7 separate regions of the Homo sapiens genome follow, and regions 2, 3, 4, 5, 6 and 7 are each linked to region 1. The links are contacts of gene promoters, found by promoter capture Hi-C in blood cells and fetal thymus (Javierre and others, 2016). All regions are on one chromosome and are shown on one strand. The core of a region is centred on a gene start or on the middle of the fragment in contact, and the rest is flanking DNA. Distances in the headings are between cores, read along the strand shown.

Region 1 (3,164 bases), core at 1-2,500:
AAACAAGAGGCGGGACTGCAACTCCCAGAAGCCTCCGCGGCCAAGGCCTCAGGCCGCAGGCTGAAGCCAAGGAGGGAGAGTTCAGGTAGATCCGGCTTAACATCAGGTGCGAGTAGGGACCACCCTTGGTAGTCTGGGCCCGGCCCAGGTCAGAACCTTACTAAAACAACCACTGTGAGTATTTTCTATTGGTCCCAGCACATTTCTGAGAGACCAGAATAATAATAGCAGTAAATCTGCAAGTGGTAAACTTTCACAAGCATAACCTCAATTTAGATTTCGGCTTCAGGCAACATCCTTTGGCCACTTGACCTGGGAGCATTGAGCTCCTTGTTTCCCAGATAAGCGCTGTGAGTGGCTGTTCCAAGGTAACACAGCGAGGGCAGAATGTGAGCCTACAGAGAAATCTGCAGATGCATCTCAAGTTCCACTAACCTGCCTCCTTACCCCCCACCACCACCAACTTGGATATACCTTTAAAATTCCCCCCTTTGACGCTAAAAATAAAAACAACAACCATAAAATAAGTGTAAGAAAGTCCGACCAAGTACCGATGAGTTCTCCCACAACAATAAATTCGATGCCTCTTTGCCTGTTTTTGAAGTAGTAATGTAAAATTATCTCCCAAAATGCTGCCTTCTCTATACTCCGGTTTGCTCCTGTCCTGGGCACGTGTTCAGCAACCCCTTAGGGGAATCCAGAGCTGCGTGTTTAACACAGACCTGTTGGGACGGATTTTCGCTACTTGTCTATGAAACTGACGAACCATCCCAAAACGGCGGGTGCCGACTACACCCCCAGAGCCAAGAGCTGTGGCGTCCCCGGACCCGCTGGCGTGGCCCCGTGCCTCAGTTTCCCCAATGTATAAACACGGTGGAGGAGGAACGGGTTAGGGCTAGGGTCGGTGCTTGGGAATTGGGGGGCCCGAGTCCCCACCCTGAGACCCTCGTGGGGCGGAAGAGTACTCGGGACAGAAGCCCACCGCCCCGTGAGCGGCGCCGGCCCCACTGGGCTCCGGGGTGATGACCTGACGCGCGTGGAAACCCAGACCCGCGCCCCAGAAACAGTATTCCACTTGGGCTTGCCTCCCCGCCCCTACCTTCCAGGATGTTGACAGCTGGGAATGAAAGGCAGAGGGAGGGAGCGCGGGGCCGGAGCGCCGCCTGGGAGTGTGCCCACTGGGTGGCCGCCTGAGGGACCCGGGAACAGAGGGCAAAAAGTCCTGTGACCGGACAGAGCAGAGCGGGGACTGCAATTCCCAGAAGACCCCACGGTAGGGGCGGGACCCAAGATGGCCGCTTGTCTGGGGACAGGAGCGGAGGCCAATACGCGCAGAGCATGCGCCTACGCCGGGCCAATTGAAAGCCATAGTGACAGTAACCCTGATTCAGGGGCGGGAAACACTGACCACAGAAGACAAGTTGAGGTGAGAATCCCCTTACAAGGGGGTTTGGGGCATAAATCGCACAATCTTTGGCTTTTTCTAACTAGAAAAAGAAACATGATTCTTTTCACGTGTAACGAAAGGCTGTACCGCACTTTTGCTTTTTTCTTTCCTCCCAAAACGCGTTTAACTATCCCTTCACGACTTCCCACTGGCTGGATTTCTTTTCGTTTCATTTCCCCACTCTGGATCTTTCTGGATTCCTTAAGCCTTCTTTTCTTTATGTGTCTCTCAGAAACACAGACTTGCAGTCCCTGGCTTGATCCATCAAATAATGTGGTCATTTACGACTACGCTCAGCCCTCCCTGGCATCCTAACAAAATTGCACCACATGCGCCCCTTCTCTTTTCCTTTCTGTCTTTTCTGTGCTGTTTTTCTCCTTAGCATTTGTCGTTACGAAGCATTGTATAAAATTTACGTATTTATCTTTTTTACCATCTTACTTTCTCACTAGAATGCAAGATCCCTGCAGATGTGGATTTTTGTTTTGGTCACTGTAGTCTTTCTAGCACCTAGAAAAGTGCCCAGCACATAGTAAATACACCGTATTTTCAATAATTGAACGAAATCTAGAGTGACCTTTCTCCCCTAGTCTCCCTTTCTCTGGTGCAGATCAACCCGTTTCTGACCACCATGGTTCCTTGTGCTTGTTCCCCTGTTTAATCCAAAATCATTATTGATGTATTCTGTGCCAAATGCCATGTGGGTGCTGGAGAAATCATTGATTCAGACCCAATTCCTAACCTCAAAATGCTCTGTCTAGTGACGTATGAAAAGTAAAATTAATTTTACAATAAATGCAATTACAAATTGCAGAACACCTACGTAATTTTCACAAGGTCATGCAGCTCCTAAGCAAGGACTAGATTCCTGGCTGCAGACTCTTGCCATTACATCGGGAAAAACAAAGAGCAGTTTTCTCTCAGACAAACACTAAGATAGGTCCCCATTTTCCTTAGCACCATTTCCTTTCTCTGTCTCTCACTTTTTTATTTGGCCTGATTCATTACATGCAGGCAATTACATCAAGTCTTAGATCTCTCATTATTTCTAATATTTGAATCCCATGGAGAGTAGCAAGGTGTCCTACAAAGTGTCCTGGTGTGAAAATCTGATGTCCTTGGAAGCTTGACTCTCAGAGAATGTCACATTGGATTATAGTTCATCACACAGACACCATGGCCACATAAAATATTATCAAATTGTGAATAACAAAGTGAAATTGAAAAAAAAAATATAGTTAAAACAGCAGGAATGTGAGCAATATATGTACAGACTGATTTTGTGCATAGAGATTAAAACACCTGTTCAGGCTTCCTAGCCTAATCTTCTGTCAATTTGGGGTCATTTCCTGTAATACAATTCTTTGTTGCTTTTATGAGCACAGACTTAGCTCAGCAGTCCCAGCTATTCTCAAGCTGATCGACATGAGAGATTTCAACACATGTGTCAGCAGCCAGACTAAACGTGGAAGAAAATCAGAAGCATTTGAAACTGTAAAGCTCAATAACTTTCCTCCTCCTGAGAAAGCATCAGCCTATAATCATTACATCTTCTACTTAGCAGTCAAAAGGCAAATGTCATGAACATACTCAGGGTCTAAACAGTGGTGTCTAATGATTATTGCACTGTTGTCAGATAGCCTAATATGAGCACATAGGTATTACTTCAGCTGTGGATAATGCTGACTGCTGGGCTCAAGGTCACCCACGACCTTGA
Region 2 (2,920 bases), core at 223-2,722, 2.0 Mb before region 1:
TGCACAGGTCCCTATGGAGAGCATGAAACCCCTTGTGTGTGGTTGGGCTGGGTATGTGTTTATCAGCAGTATGAAAACAAACTAATTTAGTAAGTTGGTATTGGGAGTGGGGAGTTGCTGGAAAAATACCCAAAAATGTGGAGGCAATTTTGGAACTGGGTAACAGGCAGAGGTTGGAACAATTTGGAGGGCTCAGAAGACAGGAAAATGTGGGAAAGTTTGGAACTCCCTAGAGACTTGTTGAATGGCTTTGCCCAAAATGCTGATAACATTATGGACAATATGGACAATAAAGGGGGCTTTCACTCACTTACTCTTTCCTGTGTTGTAGTGGTTCTCTTGGCCCTGCACTGAGCCCAGACAGGCTGTTGCCCAGCTTTGCTCCTCTGCTTTCTGTGTTCCCCTGATGCCTTGATGGATCCTGACATGGTTTCTCAGATGATTGGCCTGCAGGGTCAGTCGTCATCAGCCCTTTGGTTTCCTCTCCATGAGAGTGGCACACATGAGCTGCTTCTAGTCTGCCATCTTGGCCCTGCAAACACATTTTTTTTTAGCACCTCCTATGTACTAGGCCTTGGAGAGGTAATGGGATCAGGATAGACACAGTTCCAGGCTTTGAGCTCTGATGTAAAGATGGACAGTTAAACAATCAGTTATAATCAGTGTGACACATTGTTACAAGGAACAGAAAGACAGTCATAGGAGCCCAAAGCAAAGGTACTTTTATGCAGTCCATAGGTATAGTACCTTGAACTTAGCAGGTACTCAATAAATATTAATAGATTGAAAATGTTCACAATTTTGCCCTGAGCTTGAGAACTTGATATAGTTGAAAATAGGCAATATTGTAGGCTGGCGTCTTGCAACCTGAAGTCAGGCTACCTCAGATTTCGCAGGGGGTCATGAGATAGAGGGCTTCAACCTGCTCCCCAGCGGAACCCTCAGCACTGCCGGCGGCAGGTTGTCCCAGGTCTGCCTGTTCATGATCTCTCTGCTGCCCTGTTAACAACTTAACCCAATGACCCAAAGCTTCATATGTCTCTAAGGATCTATCCCTGCACTGAGGGGCTCGTCTTACTTGTGTTTTCCAGCTCTCCCTTTTTTCCCCCACCTTTGGCTTCTTTGTTAGTGTTGACTTTGAAGAGATAAGGCTTATTTTTCTAGCAGTAATGTATTTCAGGAAACATTGAAACAAAGGCAAATCATTTTTTTTCTTTCTCCATTTTACTGCAATTGTGATTATTTTGTGAAGGATTGAGAGAGAGGTCACAGGTACCCTCAGCGGGCCCACAGATGGATGTCTGCAGGCCATGATACCCACAAGAGCAGGTCTTCTATTTATGATGCTCATTCCAAATGTATGCAGCTCTCTGAGGCATCCCTCAGACTTGCTCCTTCCCCTTGAAGTCCCAGAACACTTCCCACATAGATCCAAGGACAATGTGCCTTCCAATTCTCCTCAAACCAGTGTGTGTTCTCCAGGAGCTGCTGATGAGGATGGGAAAGAGAATTGTGTTACTCTGATCTTTGCTCTTGACAACCTTCCTTATGTGTGATGAAATATAAATAGTATATGCCATGATTCACTATTAAACCTAGAAGAGAAACGACACTGCGATTCATAAATTAATGTTAAATCTATCTTCTGCGGTGATTGCAGGATTAGGGGGAGCTCACTCGCCTGTAGTTAGCAATGATAAATGATTTCTGAAGAATTTGTTACTTAGTTTTCAGTGGCAATATTAAGAAAAATATTAAAAATACTTTATAGAATCATGAGTGTAGCATTTGGTAAAGTGGCTTTTTTTCCCAATGCCTCTTTTTTTTTTTTTTTTAAATCACGTGGCCTTATAATTACCTGAACTTCTTGACATACTAATTAACTCTGATTTAAAACAGCCATTATTTTTAGAGTTAAGCTTAGTGAACATTGTCTGATATTATTATGTGACCATTAATATGACTAGGGAAAAATGAGATAAGGAAAAGAAGAAGACAGTAATTAAGATGAGTAATTTGGTAACAAAGTTGAACTAAAGCAGGTTGGTGACTCTTCGGCATGTGATAATGTACATTATTGGCATAATTTATCTTTTAAATTAAATTACTCTACTTATCCCAGGCCCCATGTAGGTTAGGTTTTGTTTTTATAGTTATTGGTACATGAAGTGATAGACTTGAGAATAAGTCCTAGGAAGCCATCCCTCTGCAAATTCAGAAACTTTGACCTCTGAATGTTTTATGAAACTAACTAGATCTTGGTGCTATACGAATAGGTACAAGGGGAAAAATTCAGAATGTATCCAATGGGGGAAATTTTTTTTTTGCAGCTTACAATAGGACCCAAATCAAAACGTCTCTTCTCATTCTTGAAAAGGGTGGGCAACAAGCTGCTAGCTGTGGCAAGACCACAATAGCGAAGGTCAATAAAATTACAAAAGTATGGCATAAATGAAGTCAACATTCCTCATCTACTCAATAAAGAGTATATTTCTTGTGATGAAGACACTCCATCCAATATAAAAGAAGAAATTAAATTATCTGTATGCTTTATCTAAGGGGCTCCATCATGTGGATATAAAATCATTTATTTGATAAATGTGTTTATGTATTATTGGTTTCTGTTTTATGTTAGGCATCATTTTAAGTGCTGGAGATTCACCAAAGAATAAGACAGACAAAATTGCTGCACTCAAGGAGCCTGCATTCTAATGGCAGGAATGAAAAAACAAATCAATAAACACATAAATAAATCATAAAATATCAGATCGTGATAAGTGCTATGAATAAAAAGTAGAATGTTGTCATAGAGAGGGACTGGAGGATTGCTTTAGACAGAGATGTCAGAAAAAGCAAGTCTGAAGAGGTGGTGTTTAAGCCAACACCTAAATAATAAGATGAGCAGATTATAGAGGAAAAA
Region 3 (3,190 bases), core at 340-2,839, 1.8 Mb before region 1:
CCTGACTTATTTCAGAGCTCTAAATAAATATCCAGAGTATCTGTGTACTATAAAAACATTATAAAAACTCCTCTATGGTGCTGATCCAAGGCATGAAAATTGCCCTCCTGGTGTTCTATGCCAAGCCTGGTTGACCTTCCCAATTTTTCTGCTACAAATCTGAAAAACAAGCTCAGCTGTCTGGAGAAACATCAGGCATAGGCATACATTAGATAAATGTTTGTGTTTTCCTTTCATCACGGACGACCTCGTAGGAGATGAATGACATAAACACTCTACCTGTTAGTAGACTTGGATTGCTGTCACATTATTTCCTGCATCAGTTCTAATACTCCTGGAAATAGATGTTTTTAAAGGCAATTTGGGCAGCAGTTATTATCTTTTGCTTTGCATCTTGCTTACCCTCCATGCAATGACTGACTAAATATTGTTGATTTTACTCTTTCTCCCGTAATCCTCTCCCCTGCATCCCCACCTCTCTAGCCCCACTGGCACTGCCTACGGCCTCCCTACCTCCCATCTCCCTGCTGTCTATTGTATATGCTGCAGCTACGTTTAGCTTCCCAGAGCAGAGCCTTGATCCTATCGCTCTCCTGCTCAAAACCTGTCCATAGCTCCCTGTTTTCTATGAGGCTTTCCCAAACATTAGTCATACCACCTCCATTATCTTTGCTATTTTCCCTTTCCATCTGTGCTGTGGTTTACTTCATATTTATCTTTAAATAGGCTCACTTAAAAAAAAATCTTAAATGTATTCTAAAGGGAAACTTTATCTCTAAGTAAATGGAAAACCAGTACCATCTATCATAATAGAAACTATAAAAATAAATGCAATGAAAACAAAAGTATTATCTTCCAGCAAGATAGTGTTGCCTGAGGCTCAAAGCCTGAAGCCTGATTTCTCTGTGTTTACAAAGGTGGGTGATGATTCAGTGACTGTTTGTCCCTCCAGATCTATTTTTCTCTCTTCTTCTTGTTGTCTGCCCAGGAGGCTGAGCCCGAGGACAGGTCAGTGAGTTCCCTTACTTTCTGGTTTCCAGCTGGCCTCAGCCTATGGCAGCCCAGCAGAGTCTAGGAAGGAGGGAACGATGGGTCCAGGGCTTTGTTCCCTGCCTCTCTCCCTGCAGGGTCACCACAGCCTGGCAGTATCCCCTGACAAAAGATTGCTGCCCATTTTAACATGGCTTGTTCTTAAACCCTCCCCTTGTCCCTTCAAGCCTGGAAATGGTGACAGCTCTCCCTTTACAAGCCCTGGGTCAGTGTGTTGCCCTTGTGGTTCCCCTGTACCCATACTTAGCTGATTGTCCCTTTATGACACCCACTTGGATTATCCTGCTTTGATAGGTCATACCTCTCCTGTGGAGACCCTGACTAGTATAATTATCATGGATTAGTTGTTATAGATAGACCCACATCAACTGAGACTTTCTCCTTGGCTTCATCAAAGATTGAAGGGGAATTGATAGGTAGGCGGTCTCTGTACCACCTTGCACCATGCATGTACACCAGTGAGTAACACGTGTGTTCCCCAATCTGGAGAATATCTTTCTATGGAATAAACCCCACCATTCTTTGTGTAGGATTCAAGCTGGACTGGAGTGCCACTCAACTTTCCCATCCTATTTCCTTCCACACACTCTTGCTTACCGACAAATAACCATGCTATTTCCTGTTCTTGCCCCGTAATTTCCCAACTTTCGTCTGTATTTAGACCATTTATTCTGCTTAGAAAGAATACCTCCTCCATCTCCTCATTAAATCTGGTCACGGTTCTGATGTTGCCTTCTCCCTGAAGCCAACACTAATATGCTTGGCACTCTTAATATTGTCTTGACCTCCCCCAAACTCTGGGTATCATTCCCTCCATGTCTCCCATGGGGTGCAGGGTGGCAGAGGGTCAGACTTGCCCAGGCCCCTGGCTGAGCCTCACCTTGGAACCTTGCACATAGACCTTTGGCCTCTTTCTTTTTGAGATGGAGTCTTGCTCTGTTGCCAGGAGTGCAATGGCACAATCTTGGGTCACTGCAACTACAGCCTCCTGGGTTTGAGTGATTCCCCTGCCTCAGCCTCCCAAGTAGCTGGGACTACAGGTGCGTGCCACCACACCTGGCTAATTTTCTTGTATTTTTAGTAGAGACGAGGTTTCACCACGGTGGCCAGGATGGTCTCGATCTCCTGACCTTGTGATCCGCCCCCCTTGGCCTCCCAAAGTGCTGGGATTACAGGCATGAGCCACTGTGCCCAGTGACCTTTGGCCTCTTTAATCCATCTCTGACACCCCATGGCCCTTACTCTGTGGAGGTCATCCTGTTCTAGCTTGTTTTATAATCGTGACTTTTCTCTTGGATTATACCAAAGCCCCACGCATTCATTTATTCATTTAACACATAATGATTAAACCTACAAAGTACTGGGTGCATGCTAGGTGCTGAATAGATAGTGATACACGAAATAACCTGATTCCTAGGCCCAGGGAGCTTACTACCTGAAGAAAACTATAGAAACCCTTTGAGACTACACCCTTTTCAAGAGAGGTATGAGCTCGAGAGTCCCCATCAATAATTTACTTGCACACACACATAATTGTATAGCAGCCACTGGTTTACAGTTTGTGATGAAAGTGCCCTAGTTGTTAAGAACATCCTTCCCTGGGAGATGGCCTCCGTGAGGGGCAGTAGAGGAGAATGGTTAAAAGGCAAGTCAGGCTGTACTCACAGCTCTGATCATTCACTTTCAGCAAACACAGCACTTCTGAGCCTTAATTTCCTTAGCTGTAAAATGGGTTTGTTCTCTCCATATACTTTTCTCAGAGGTTTGTGAGGAGTCAAAATACTGCCTACAAAGGTTTGTAATGGTGCCCATCACAAAATAAGTGCTCAGTATGTATCAGTGGTGGTTGTGAGGGGAGTGGCTATCAGCTTATGGAAGTCTAGACATTGGATCTCTAAATACAGGCAAGATTCGTATTTGCTTGGGACCATCTAGGTTCAACTCACACGGAAAATCTTCCAGGTGCCAGGGCTGTGATTGTAAACAAGCTGGAAGGAAAATACACAGTAAACACACCAGAGGAGGAGCTGTGGAAGGAGCTGGAAGGGGTTCCGAGCAAACAGGGACTGCCACAGCCTGAGGACAAGTCCACCCCAGAAACTCATATGTACGCTCTACTAAGATTCTGTTCTTGAAACAT
Region 4 (3,074 bases), core at 54-2,553, 1.9 Mb before region 1:
TGTCCTCTGCCCCTAAGTTCTCTGGGGTGAAACACTTCTGTGCCTTGCCCTGACCTTTCTCCTCTTCCTGTTTCTCTTCTTCCTCTTTCTCCCTCCCCTGCTCCATAAAGATAGTGAAGCCCTGAGCTGGCAGATAAATTGGACTCCCGCTCAGGTGAAGCAGAGAGAATTCTTGATGTATTTTTTTTTCTGTAGCTGAGGAAGCAAGTTGCATTTGTGCTGCTGGTTTCCATTACTGGGCTGGTCGTATTTTATCTTCCCTTAAGTGGCAGCCAGATCCCTCCAGGTCAGGTCAACACAGAATCTGAATACAGGAGAGAGAAGCAGGTACTAAAGCTGGTCAGAAGTATTTATTTCTCTTACAGCTGTACTATCTAAAAGAGGCACTAAAGTTTTCCAACGTGAGGCTGGGAGTTGCAATTCTCCTCTGCAATGCCCTTTGAGCTTCAGGCCTGTTTCCACTCAGCTGATTCTCCATGATGCTCATGACCTTGTTCCTTTGCCCAGGTTTCATCACAGCGCCCATCTTCTCAAAGCCATCATTAACTCCCCATTGCCCATAAAATATATCTCCAAATCCTTACCCTGGTATACAGTGCCTGCTACTCTGACTCATACTTACTCTTTGTTTTATTTTCTACCATCCCTAAGCACTTGCAAGTCTAATACCAAACTATTCACTGTTTCCCACCTACTCCTTATATTTTCCTGCTTCTGTGCCTTTTTGATGTGTCTGGAATATTCCTTTCTCCTCCTTCTCCTCCTCACTCCCGTGGTCAAGTCATACCTGGTCTGCAGAGCCCAGCTCCAATGTAAGCCATGAAGTTTTATTTGTGCACCCTTCAGCTGAGGGTAATCCTACCTTTCTCTGAACTCCTTTGGTTTTCTGTGAACAGAGCACTGATGACTGGTACTAAGAATTCTCCACTCTGCAGTACAGGCTTTTCCAAGCTTAGTGTTCTTCCCTAATAGAATGTAGGCGCCTTGTAGATAAGACTTATGCCTGACCCCTACTGCTTTTCCCCACAGTGTCTAATATACTTTGGCAACTGGATGACTGAATTTGAGGACATTAGTTGAGCTGTTTACATATATACAATTACTGATGACCTAGGAGTTGATACACCAAGGATGTCAAATTCCTGCCATGCATGCCCTCACAGCTCCTCTGGTGCTGGTGGAAAAATTCTCACACATTCACCCCAGTCAGGAAGTGGCTGCTTGGAGAAGTAGGTAGAGAAGGATTCTCAGGTTGTGTCTTGTGCCAGTGGGATGGAGTGCTGTGATTGATTGGTGATGTCTCCTATTACCGATGGATCAGAATTGACAGAAAGGTGGAAACGTTATGTTTCCATATTGGTAGAAAGAAAGTTCTGATAAATGGGATGGTTATACTTACAATGAAAACTGACTCTTCTAAAATTGTTAGGAGACAACATAGAATTGGAGTTAACTTTCATTTGGACCTCTTCTACTTGGGAGCTAGTAGAAAATTACTTAATCTTCATTTTCCCACATGTCAAATGAGTTACTATCACCTATTTTGCCCACCTCAGTTAAAGAAGTATTTTTTCGGTGTTATGATGGCAAAAGGAGATATATATGAATACATCAGTTTATTTTATGTTAATTCTGATGACTTTCCTTTTGGTCTAGAAGCTTCTGTACTGTCAATGTCCAGTGATGTCCATGTTGACCTCCAGTTGAGGCATCTTAGGCCTAGCAATGAGGCCATTTGAGATCAAAGCCTTCCAACTGGGGAATGTGGCACTTAACTCTCTCTTCCCAAGTCAGGCCGGAGATGTGAGGATGGACACAGCTCTCCTGTTGTGTTTTGTACACACTGAATTTAATATCCAACCAATTTGCCCTTTATATCCAATCAAAGAATAAGTGGCTCATGAGAACAGAGTACAGTCCTGCAATTCTGCATTTCTTCCTTGTGTTTATTCTTTGACCTATTTATTAACAAACACAAAACACCTTTCCTCTTAAAAAACACAATATTTCAATCCAAATGAAATTATTTTTTAAAAAATGACATTAGGATATGTACAGTTTTCTCTCCAATGTAGTTTCCAACCCCAATAAGTAAGTTCTACGCTCTGAAGAAGCTACATAGAAATTAAACTAAGTGTATCCAAACAAGTTCATAATTTTTATGCTACTGTCTCCTTTAAGGCCTAAGAAATTACCTATTGACCCTTTTAAATATTAAATCCCTTTTATTATCCCTTTTATTGGCCATCTACTTAATGTTAAGTGAAAGAGCCCTAAAAATAGGTCCAACATTTAAAATCTGTGATAATTGCCCTTGAATGGGCAAGAGAGTAGACCTGTCTGTATCGAGTGCTCATGAAGTCAAATCTTGCGGGGCTTTTCTGATCTGGACTGGGAAACCACGTCAGCCCTTTGGGCCTCCTGCTGAAATGGACTCTTTCAAGTAGGAAACATAAATTAAGTCAAAAGATTGGAGTTCTAGAAAATCTGCCATTCCCCACCCCTCTCCAAAGCCATAGAAGAAAATAAAAGAGCAAGAGGAAAGAGATTTGTGAAATGGCTAATGAAAACTAGTCACATAAGGACATTAAGCCAAGAAAATCTGAATGGGGAAACTAAGCGTCAGATATGAGAATGTTAAGGAGATGGTTACTCTCCCTGGTTGTGTAAAGCTGGGCGGTTTTCACAGCCATGTGGTGTACCTGCTGACTAGTCACTTCATGCTGCTACACAGAGAAACTTGGAAGGCACTAAAGGCTTCTGAAGGGCACTTGTCACCATCACATAATAGGATATTTTGTGGTCTGGAAAAATTATTTGATTGAATGCTTTAGCGATTTCAATAGTGATTTGTTCCTTCTGTCACATTTGTTACATCTGTGTTAGCATCCCAGGGAAAACAATACAGTTGTGATTTGTTACCTGTATTGTTTTCAGAATAAAAACTGGATGACTTCCTGTGTGTGTGTTTATTTTTCCCTCACCAGGTGAAGCTGTTACTCAATAATTAACATTAGGTTTAGACACTGGGTTTAAGAAATAAACAAAGCACTTGATTGTTTTTTTTACACCTC
Region 5 (3,245 bases), core at 171-2,670, 1.8 Mb before region 1:
TCACACAATGGGATGAATCCAAAGCCCCGTGGCCAGCGCCCAGCATAGTCAGTGGTGGTGGTCTGCATCTCGTCATGTCCTCCAGGCTCTGTACATCTCATCTGCCCTCCCTTCTCACCCTCTCTTCTCTTACCCACTAGCAGAGCCCTTGCAGCTAAGCTGAGCTACACTTTTCCTGCTTTCTGATTAGGTGGCAGCTGTCTGATCTTTAACTGGAACAATCTTGCTTATAGAATCTTTGTAAATTAGAAAACAACCAAGCAGTGCATAGCAGAACATTGAGCCACAGGACCTTGAGCCAAAGATCTCTGTGTCTTCGGTCGAGCAATATGACTGTTCGGTCTCTAAATTTGTGATAGGACCTAAGAGGACTTTTGTGAAGACTAAAGTGAGCTGGTATGAAAGCTTCATGTACAGTGTATTGTTATTTTATCATTACACATGTTATATATCATTACATACAATGATAATGTATTTTATCATTAATAACTACTGGCTGGTTTCTAGATGTTGCAGAGGAAGATGATTAAGTGTCCTCACTGCTGCTTCACTCCCAGGAGCACAGCTGTGATCGTGAAACAACTCTGTCATCAATCGGCATCCTCAGATCTGTGCTGTCCATGGTGGTAGCCACCAGCCATATGTGGCTGTAAAATTTAATTATATTAAAATTCTGCTTCCTCAGTCATACCAGCCACTACATGGCCCATAGGTACAAATGGCTAGTGGGTACTCTATTGCTCAGTACAAATATGGAACACTTCCATTATCACAGAGCATTCTATTGGACAGCTTTGGACCAAAGTATAAGTCCCCTCCCCTCATCTCTTTGAAGAGTTCCAGGAATGCCTGCAGTAAATTTTGGGGATGCTACAGAGCCCACAAAGTATATATTTTAGGTTAGATCATCCCAAATACATCCTTCAAATTTACTATAAATAAAAAGATAAACATCGTTGCTTTGAAAACTGTTGTTAGAATGATGAAGGCAGGGGCCGGGGGCAGTGGCTCATGCCTGTAATCCCAACACTTTGGGAGGCTGAGTCGGGCAGATCACCTGAGGTCAGGAGTTTGAGACCAGCCTGGCCAACATGGCAAAACCCCGTTTCTACTAAAAATACAAAAATTAGCTAGACATGGTGCATGCCTGTAATCCCAGCTACTCAGGAGGCTGAGACATGAGAATTGCTTGAACCGGTGAGGCAGAAGTTGCAGTGAGCTGAGATTACACCACTGCCCTCTAGCCTGGATGACTGAGCGAGGCTCTATCTTAAAAAAACAATTATAGGTGTACGTGTATATATATAATAAAAATAAAAAATAAATTTAGAAAAGAATGACAGAGGCTATTGACCTAAAGGAATGCTCATTACTTCTTACATATATGCCCTTTTTGAGACACCAGCAGGAATTTGGCACAGGGAGATAGTGTTATAGAAAATTATTCAATTTAAAGCAGAGATCATCTGGAAACCAGAACATGACATTTTTGGCTGAAAGGGTGGGGAGTCTTGGGGGTGGAAGGGGGTGGGAATGGAGTCAACCAGCAACCCAGAAGCGCGCTTGGGGAAGACGGTAATTGGCCAGCTCTTACAGAAGTTATCAAAGAGAACATGAGATTTGCTGTAGCCTCTCTGCATAAGTCTAGGACCCCAAGAGGAGTTGGAGAATTACTGTGTGTCACCACGGGGTGTCCTTCAGGAGGAAAGGGCAGGCCTCAAGTCAGATGCCAGATGCTATAACCATCATTATCTGCAGAGGAAAATTGGGTCTGAAATGTCCCCCTGGGGAGCATGCTCCCTCCTCGTCTTCTGGCTAGACGTTCCTCCTGCAGGGAGGCGAGGCTGAGGACTGGGACAAAAATATTGCAGTTCAGTGCTGTTTCCCACTAGAAAGGTCATGGGTGCAAAACAATGAGTCCAATTTAAGTTTGCTGGTCTTTAAGTATATATATTGTTATTATCATTATTATTGTATTGCCATAGATTGTACTGGTAGTATAGATTGCTTAAAAGAAAATGAACTTTGATAATCTTCTGTAATGACAATAATACCTACCTAATACTACTAATAATAATTAATTATAAGGGTTAATTGAGGGATGTATAATAAGCTCAGGCACTGAGTATGGCATGAACTGAACACATATAAAAATGTTAGCTTGAATAATAAACACTATGCATATTTATTAGAAGTAAATATTAATGTCTTTTAGCAATCTTCATAATTAATTTTAATGTTTTGTTAATAAATTACCAATAATTCAATTTTCTAATAAAATATTCATATTAATAATAAAACAATAATGTGATTAAATACGAGTTAAATATTAGTAGTATTTTGTTATTCCATAAATGTCTATGAGGTGTTACTTGCTGTCAGACTGTGTTCTAAGCCCTGGGGTAACAGGTGCATGAGACAACGCCCTGATCTCAGGAAGCTTATGCTTGAGCAAGGGGAAACTGCCTAGTAAAAGAATTACAGATAGTGATACATGCTAATGAGAGTAACTAAGGGGGTGGGGGGGTGCCACAGGCTATTTCCTTAGTGGAAGCAGGGAAGGCTTCTCTGAGGAGGGGACATTTACATGGCCCTCTATGATGAGAAGGAGCCATGAGATGTTGTGAGGTGATTTCAATGCTTTGGACGATAAGCATCAGAAAACTCTAGATTCAAATAATTTAAATGATAATAACATTTACTGTTTCACATTACAAGAAGTCCCAAGGTAGGAAGGTTCTAGGGTTGTCTAACTCGGGTCCCATCCACAGCACGAGGACGCAGTTTCTTCCATCTTTCTGCCTGCCCGTCTGCAGGGCACCCTGCAGCCTGTAGCCGGGCCTCAGCCTGGCTTCCCTCATGGCTGTCAATAGTTGCCAACATCCCATCTGAAACAACATCCAGAGGAAGAAGGGAGAATTTCCAGAAGTGTCCAGCACATTGACTCTCGCATCTCACTGGTCAGAACCGGGCCAAACACCCACCTTTAAAATCACAAGCAAGAGAATAGAATCACCATGATTGGCAAGCTTTTTCTGTAGATTGTTAAATAGGAAATATTTTAGACTTCACAGGTCAAGAGGCAAGATTGAAGGTATTATGTAGGTACTTAAATAATAAGAGAGAAAATAGATTTCCACAAAGTTTTTATTGATGAAATTCAAAATAGAATAGTTGAATATAATTTTTTTAAATGCGGGCCTATTAAGAAGAAGAATGAGTTTCTTTTGGAGGGAATAGCATTT
Region 6 (3,143 bases), core at 610-3,109, 1.8 Mb before region 1:
CTCTACACCTGAAGATCCCACCTCCCATTCCCACATCTGAGTCAATAGATTGCTATTTTTGCTTTGCTTTGTTTTTTGTTTATGTTTTGCTAAATTAGAGTTAGGTTTCTGTCACGGGCCACTGATGAATGGAGGCCCCACTGAAAATGTGGGAATCCATGAATCTGGAAGGACATGATGGTGCCCATCTAAACATGCCAGACAAGGAAGATGGGTGCTGGCAGGGGCAGGCATGGTGGGGCAATCTGTGTGCCTCTGACTGAACTCTGGGCATTTCTTCCTGGGAACCAACTGATGGAAAGACCATGGGGCATGGAGTGAGAGAAATAAAAGTTCATTCTCAACTCAGTCATTTTCTTGGTGTATGGCCTTGAGTAGTTACTGCACATTTATGGAACACCTACCTCATGCATCATTGGGAGGACTCAATTAAATCATGTAAGGCCCCATGCACTTCTAATATATACAGCATCTAAATGTTTACTTCCTAATTTATTCCATAAAGGATTGAAGCTTTTAATATAAAAACATACTTTACAAAATGATTAAGAAATATAGACACTTAAAGATGATCATGGGCTGGAAATATATAAATTAGAGGAAAAGTTTATGATGGGGGGAGGAATAACACTAACAAGGCAAGATCTCAGGATCTGTGATATTGTTAACTGTTTCAAGCTTGGTTTTGAGCCTTCCGGAAGCCAAAGGGAAAAGGGGGGAAATATTCATATACTTCTCAATGTCAAAATGAAATAAACATACTCTTTTTTTCCAAAGAAGTACAGAAATATATAATAAATTGCAAATGTAGCCTTCAAACAGGAGAGTCACTGGTGGTATAATAGACAACATCTTTCTACAAATACAACAGTAACAATGGGTGTCTGATTTCTTTAATCATCCTTTGATGTAAACCAAATATGTAGTTTTAATGCCCATCTTAGAAAAGCAGAGTCTATGAACCCAAATAGATGGGTAGATGGAATTTGAAAGCTCTAGAATAGGCAGAGAAGCTTCTCAAAGGCTACCCCCGATTATCCGTAATAGCTGAAGAGAATGAAAGTATACTGCTGTTGGGGCTTAGCAAACGATATCCCCAAATGAAGGCTTCGGCAGAAGCCTCAGAGGCAAACGTTTTTCTCTGCCCTCCTGTCTCACAGACTTATTCTCCCCACAAGGCTAGCCATAGAAACTAGACTCTGTCCTCCCCATCATGAGCCACAGAAACCCAAGCCCCTTTTCACTAAAGCCAGCCATAAAAAACTAAAAATACTACTCTAATTTTCCCTCTAATTTTGTACAGCTTTTCTGTACAAAAGCTGGCCATAAATCATCTGCCCCACCTTGTTTGACTGTAGGTCACAAGGCCCCTATTCCAGAGAGGGTCCTGCCCCACACCCAGAAGGAAGGAATGCTGCTCAGAAAGACCAAGAAGAATCTAGACAGACAGCCTTGCTGGGTTTCCCCACTCAGCCTATTAGCATTAGATCATAGCCTTTTCCTCCAATCATATTTCCACACATACTGTCCATAATTTGTTGAACCTAAACATAAAATGGACAATTTTCTCTGTTTCTTTGGGTCTTTATTCTGAAGGACCCTGTGTATACACATTAAATAAATGTGTATGCCTATTCTTGTATTAATCTGCCTTTTGAGTTGATTTTTCAGTGAACCTTCAGAGGGCCAAGTTTCCTTTGGCCCCTACACTGCTTAAACCTCATTGAATCCTGTGTTGTAATTCAAAACAAATGGCAATTTTCCACTACTTTATCTACTGGGTCTTCCCCTAAATCTTCTGGTTAGACTGAGGTTTAAGAAGATATTTCATGTTTGTCCTGAGGGTCTGCACACCGCTGGGATACTGTCACCTATCTCTAGGTGCTTCCCTAGTTGAAGATTCTCTCATATTCTACATATCAGACTCCCCCCAGGTCCCTCCTTGCAGGCTACTTAAGGAAACCTCATATGATCATTAACGAAGACCCACGGGAATGTTAAAAAGTTTGGTGTAAATTCTTTGGGGTTTTAAAATGGCACCTTTATGTCTGTGCCTTTAAAGATCCTGGAGGATTTAATTCCTTGGGGAATTCCAGTGAATTGTTCTGACTTGTACCAACTGTCTCAGACGCAAAGATGTGCAGACTCCTGTGCGGAGGCTCAGCTCTGCCTGTAGACACCATTGTTACACACACAGAAAATCAGCTCCAGGGTTGTCTCTCGCTTCAGAAAAATGGCACACTCCATTTGTTATCAGATGCCTCTGACTTCAGTGATTTGAAAGGGAACTCTTGTGTTGTCCGGAAAATTAACTATCTCAGCTACACTTTCTTCCTGCAGAAGAACACTTCTTATGGAATTACGTGATTATTTTGATACCGCTTGGCTTTGAAAGAAGAGTTAAAGTAGAAAGTCAGCATAACCCATCTAGGCATGGAGAGAGGGGAAGTGGCATAGCTGAAGAACCTACAGAAAAATGAGAAAAAAAAGAGAAAAGATTAATAACTATGATCGGGGCAAAACTATCAACACAGGAGTGGGTTTTGTTTGGTTTGTTGTTTTTTTGTTTTTGTTTTTTGTTTTTTTTTTACCATTCCCCAGCCCTATTAAACAAACCCCAGAAACTTTTATTCTTGGTGGCCCAATTTTCCTTCTCTCAACTAAGTCCAGTTGTTATTTGTTTTTTGCTGATCCATTATGTAGGCCAAGCTTGTCCAACCCGCAGCCCACGTGCTCCAAGTGACCCAAGATGGCTTTGAAGGTGGCCCAACACAAATTCATAAATATTTTAAAAACATTATTGAGGCAGGAGAATAGGGTCTGGAGACAGAGAACTTAAGGCCAATTTGTGCTGACTTCCTAAAAGAGAAACATCAAGGTCTGGGGGCAGGAAACCTAAGGCCTATTAACACCAACTTCCTAAAGCTGAACCTAAAGGAAAAACTCCATCTCCCCGGCAGAATAGCAAAGGATCAAAGGCTACTTTCCTTACAGCCCTCTCACTCTACCATGTCTCAGATGGAAAGGGAGAGTGCCTTGGGTTCGCAGGGCCAAGCAGAGACCATCCCTTTATCTGCATAGGGCACCAATTCACCTCAGCCTTTAATTAGCCACATACCAAATCCTTCATCGGGATAGCTGAT
Region 7 (3,317 bases), core at 396-2,895, 1.8 Mb before region 1:
ACTACAGAGCCCAAGATTTCAACCAAGTTGCTACATTTGGGATGAAAGCAAAGCTCAATTGTTAAAAGCAAAACTCTCTTGATGCTACATGAAAAGTAATGTGCAATAACCCATTTCTGTACTAACAGAGCAGTCCAGTTAGGACTCTACAGGAAAAAGCAAACAAGGTAGGCTAGGGGCCTCCAGTAGGCTTGTATATGACCCAGGACTTGAATTGAGTCCAGATAACAGTGGGGTTGAAAGATGTTGCCATTGTAACATCCGTCTCCCCCGTTAAAGAGATATCTAATTTTACTGAGATATTCACTTCTTCCCTAAGTAGCTCACATGCAAGGCAAAGCTGACTTCACCCCTCCCGGCTTTAGGAAAATTTCTTATTTTTCTAAGCATAAACCCATCCTCCTTGCCAGTGATTGGGCACGTGATCTGGTTTAGGTTAATACGATGCAAGAGATTCTCTCTTCTGATCTGGATATTACTATTACTGGATGTTACCAGATGTTAGTTACTGCCACTAAAACGCAGCATAGCAAAACCCCACAAGAGCATTTAGTTAGCTGGTCTAGGCCTTGCTAGTTGGGCCAGCTCAGTTCTCTTGATCGTCTCTTGGCTCAACAGTGAGTTTAGGGGGTCAGCTCATCTAGCTTAGGTTCTACACTAAGTCTCCCATGCCTTCTCATGACCAGAAGGCTAGAGTGTGCATGTTCTTCTCAAGGTGATGGCAGAGATATAAGAATACCAGTGGAAATACACAGGCATATCTCAAGCCTAGCCTCTGTTACATCTGCTAACATCCCATTGGCCAAAAAACAGTCAAATGGCCAAGCTTAGTATCAAGCCCACCTGCTAAATAGCCAAACTAGATCACGTGGCCAAGCCTGCCATCAGTGGAGTAGGAAAGCATACACTTCCCTGGGAGTGATCGGGAGGAAGTGATATTCTGAGTAATAATCTAATCTACTACAGGGCCATGCATGGATGTGAAGCCGAGAACCATAACAGCCTTCTCCCTTTCAACCTAAAATGAAGCCAACACACAGAGAGAAGAGGGGATTCACAAGAACCCCAGGAAAAGAGATGGAGCTGCTGGATCAAATCAACTCGAAGTTCTACCCAATCTCTGCATTGGCCAATGTTGACATTACGCGATGCTGAAACTCTCATTCAGAGAACACTCCTTGGAACACTTAGGAACAAAGGTCCAGAGATGTGAATAAATGTGTTGCATTGGGGGAAAGAAAAACAATGCAGAGAGCCTAGAGAGATCATTTTTTCCCAAGTGTTTTGTCCTTGGAAACCCAATCAAGCCTTCCCTTTATCATCCACTCACCTTGCAGCAGATCTATTTCTTCTTGATTTTGTGTAATTTGATTCATTCTCAGATGTTTGTTCATCTGATCTTACAGTTGGTATGGTAACGGCCTGACTGAACTGTGGTGTTTATTTTTCACCACAAGCTCTTGTCAAGTCAGGAAGAATCACCTTTGCCTTCTTTCAAGCAGTACAGGGGACTGAGATATTGAGGAGGAGGCATGGCCTTGTACCCCTACTGGGGTCGATGCTGGAAAATCTCCTGTTAAAACTCTACCATTTTCCTTCCTCTGTTCACATTGATTGAGGTGGTTCCTTCCTTTCTGTAGAGCTCTTGTCTCCTTGCCATGGAAGGCAACATTTATTTCTATCCCCCACCCCCTCTCATGTGACATTAATAACAGGACACAAATTGGGTGGGCAATAGGTCAAAGAATTTGTGAAAGTCACATTCAAAAAAATACTGTAAAGAAGCAAAAGGAGATATCTTAGAATCAGAATTAATCATTGAAAATAATACTTATAAGTATTTACTAACTTTGTAACTCAGTTAAGAAGTTCTTCACACCCTAGATGTTCAAACATTGAGGGAGAACATGGCTAATATTTATTAGATACTACCATGAGCTAAGCACTATGTGTGGCCTACCATACACGTGACTCATTCAGTCTCACAATGACCTGGGGAAACAACTATAATCATCTCCACTTTATGGAGAAAAAGAACTTTTCCAAGGTCTTGCAGCTAGCATGTAGAGGGTCTAGGATTTGAATTTGGAACTTGCACCTTCATTTTATTTCTACCACACTATACTCTTTTGAACAGAAGATACATAGCACACTTGTTCTGAGAGTAGACTTGCCTATAAGAATAGTAAAATCTGGCCCTACCATGTACTAATTGTGTAATTTTGACCAAATTACTTAACCTTTCTCTGCCTCAGTTTCCTCATTTGGAAAATGGGAATAATCCAAACTCTGCCCTGTCATTTTAGGAAAGTCCCTTATCCCCCTGGGCCTTACTTTCATGTCTCTGTAATGAGGGACCTGCACTAGTGATTTCTAAGGGAGCTTTTGTGCAAACATTCAGCCATATTCTGGGCTTAGGGTCATGATTTTATATCAGTGCAGGGCAGTGAAAAGAGAAGAAAAGAGAAGCTTCAAGAAATATCTTACAAACATAAGACTTGGTGGCTGATTTCATGGAAAAGGCAAAGAAGGAGCTTGAGTAAAAGATGGCTCTGAGCTTTAGAGCCTGGAGGAAAGATATATTTATTTTTAAATCATCCAAAAGCCACTCTTGCTATTGTGTTAGTTATTGTCTCCATTTGACCAATGAATCAAGGTTTTAAAATATCCATTTGCTGTCCCTTATTCGTTATTCTTCTGTGAACAAGCTTAGTCCATAACGGTCTAAAACCATCAGCAGCTCATTAGTCATCAGAAGATTTGTAACTAAGTGGTAATAGAGATTCCTGTAATCTGGACTTCAGAGCTAAAGGAACGGGTATCCAGTGATGAATCGTCCAGGCAGGGCTCTGAAAGGTGTCCTAATGGATGCAGCAAGTGAAGATCTGTTCCAGATGGACATATCTGCTGCTGCTTTTCTGTTCCTCACGCACAACACACCTTGGCTCAGCCATCCTCCCTTCTTGCAAAGGCTCCTAGACTACCCTCTGGCAGGAAGAATCTAATCCATCCTTCAAAGAAAAGCTCAAGCTGTTCATGGAATAGACACGTATGGAGCCAGGCTCTGTGCTAGGTGCCAGCAATGCAAAGATGAAAGACACCTGTCTCAAAGAGCTCCCACCAGCTGGGCCTGGGGCATCATCCCCAAGCTCACACCTTGTCATTCATTTTGCTTGTCTATTCATGGTGGTTAATTCCTGAGGACAAGGACTTTTTTCATACTCTTCATGATACTTATGTGCTGAGAGTGGGTGTTGAAATGTATTTGTACTTTGTTTTATTTGGGAGAAAGGCCTTATTGTGTAGCAGCTAAGAGA

What was found. The method cuts DNA at HindIII sites, captures the fragments that hold promoters and counts their contacts. A CHiCAGO score of 5 or more calls a contact.
Region 2: a fragment that was not itself captured here is called in contact with the fragment with the promoter of FHIT in region 1 in 2 of 17 cell types (monocytes and total CD4 T cells); the score reaches 9.1 in monocytes.
Region 3: a fragment that was not itself captured here is called in contact with the fragment with the promoter of FHIT in region 1 in 7 of 17 cell types (non-activated CD4 T cells, naive CD8 T cells, total CD4 T cells and 4 more); the score reaches 20.2 in non-activated CD4 T cells.
Region 4: a fragment that was not itself captured here is called in contact with the fragment with the promoter of FHIT in region 1 in 1 of 17 cell types (activated CD4 T cells); the score reaches 5.6 in activated CD4 T cells.
Region 5: a fragment that was not itself captured here is called in contact with the fragment with the promoter of FHIT in region 1 in 5 of 17 cell types (non-activated CD4 T cells, naive CD4 T cells, total CD4 T cells and 2 more); the score reaches 8.9 in non-activated CD4 T cells.
Region 6: a fragment that was not itself captured here is called in contact with the fragment with the promoter of FHIT in region 1 in 3 of 17 cell types (activated CD4 T cells, naive CD4 T cells and non-activated CD4 T cells); the score reaches 6.4 in activated CD4 T cells.
Region 7: a contact is called between a fragment that was not itself captured here and the fragment with the promoter of FHIT in region 1, in 5 of 17 cell types (total CD4 T cells, naive CD8 T cells, total CD8 T cells and 2 more). The highest score is 7.9, in total CD4 T cells.

The regions. Positions count from the first base shown.
Region 1 is chr3:61,250,202-61,253,365 of GRCh38, forward strand. FHIT (fragile histidine triad diadenosine triphosphatase) reads right to left here and starts at 1,251. Exons shown (of 10, transcript NM_002012.4): 1 at 1,100-1,251. LOC124909387 (a long non-coding RNA gene) reads left to right here and starts at 1,391. Exons shown (of 2, transcript XR_007095939.1): 1 at 1,391-1,426. RefSeq lists enhancers at 1-119, 400-529, 670-799, 930-989, 1,054-1,348. The HindIII fragment of the contact is 4,935 bases long and covers 1-2,570 here.
Region 2 is chr3:59,297,720-59,300,639 of GRCh38, forward strand. The region is part of intron 4 of CFAP20DC-DT (CFAP20DC divergent transcript); the gene reads left to right. Among named protein-coding and RNA genes, the nearest start is that of CFAP20DC-DT, 210 kb to the left of the region's middle. The HindIII fragment of the contact is 890 bases long and covers 1,028-1,917 here.
Region 3 is chr3:59,446,330-59,449,519 of GRCh38, forward strand. All of the region lies in intron 5 of CFAP20DC-DT (CFAP20DC divergent transcript), which reads left to right. Among named protein-coding and RNA genes, the nearest start is that of CFAP20DC-DT, 360 kb to the left of the region's middle. The HindIII fragment of the contact is 3,429 bases long and covers 1-3,190 here.
Region 4 is chr3:59,369,025-59,372,098 of GRCh38, forward strand. The region is part of intron 5 of CFAP20DC-DT (CFAP20DC divergent transcript); the gene reads left to right. Among named protein-coding and RNA genes, the nearest start is that of CFAP20DC-DT, 280 kb to the left of the region's middle. The HindIII fragment of the contact is 708 bases long and covers 950-1,657 here.
Region 5 is chr3:59,428,800-59,432,044 of GRCh38, forward strand. All of the region lies in intron 5 of CFAP20DC-DT (CFAP20DC divergent transcript), which reads left to right. Among named protein-coding and RNA genes, the nearest start is that of CFAP20DC-DT, 340 kb to the left of the region's middle. The HindIII fragment of the contact is 2,035 bases long and covers 404-2,438 here.
Region 6 is chr3:59,462,275-59,465,417 of GRCh38, forward strand. The region is part of intron 5 of CFAP20DC-DT (CFAP20DC divergent transcript); the gene reads left to right. Among named protein-coding and RNA genes, the nearest start is that of CFAP20DC-DT, 380 kb to the left of the region's middle. The HindIII fragment of the contact is 1,696 bases long and covers 1,012-2,707 here.
Region 7 is chr3:59,409,936-59,413,252 of GRCh38, forward strand. The region is part of intron 5 of CFAP20DC-DT (CFAP20DC divergent transcript); the gene reads left to right. Among named protein-coding and RNA genes, the nearest start is that of CFAP20DC-DT, 320 kb to the left of the region's middle. The HindIII fragment of the contact is 1,643 bases long and covers 825-2,467 here.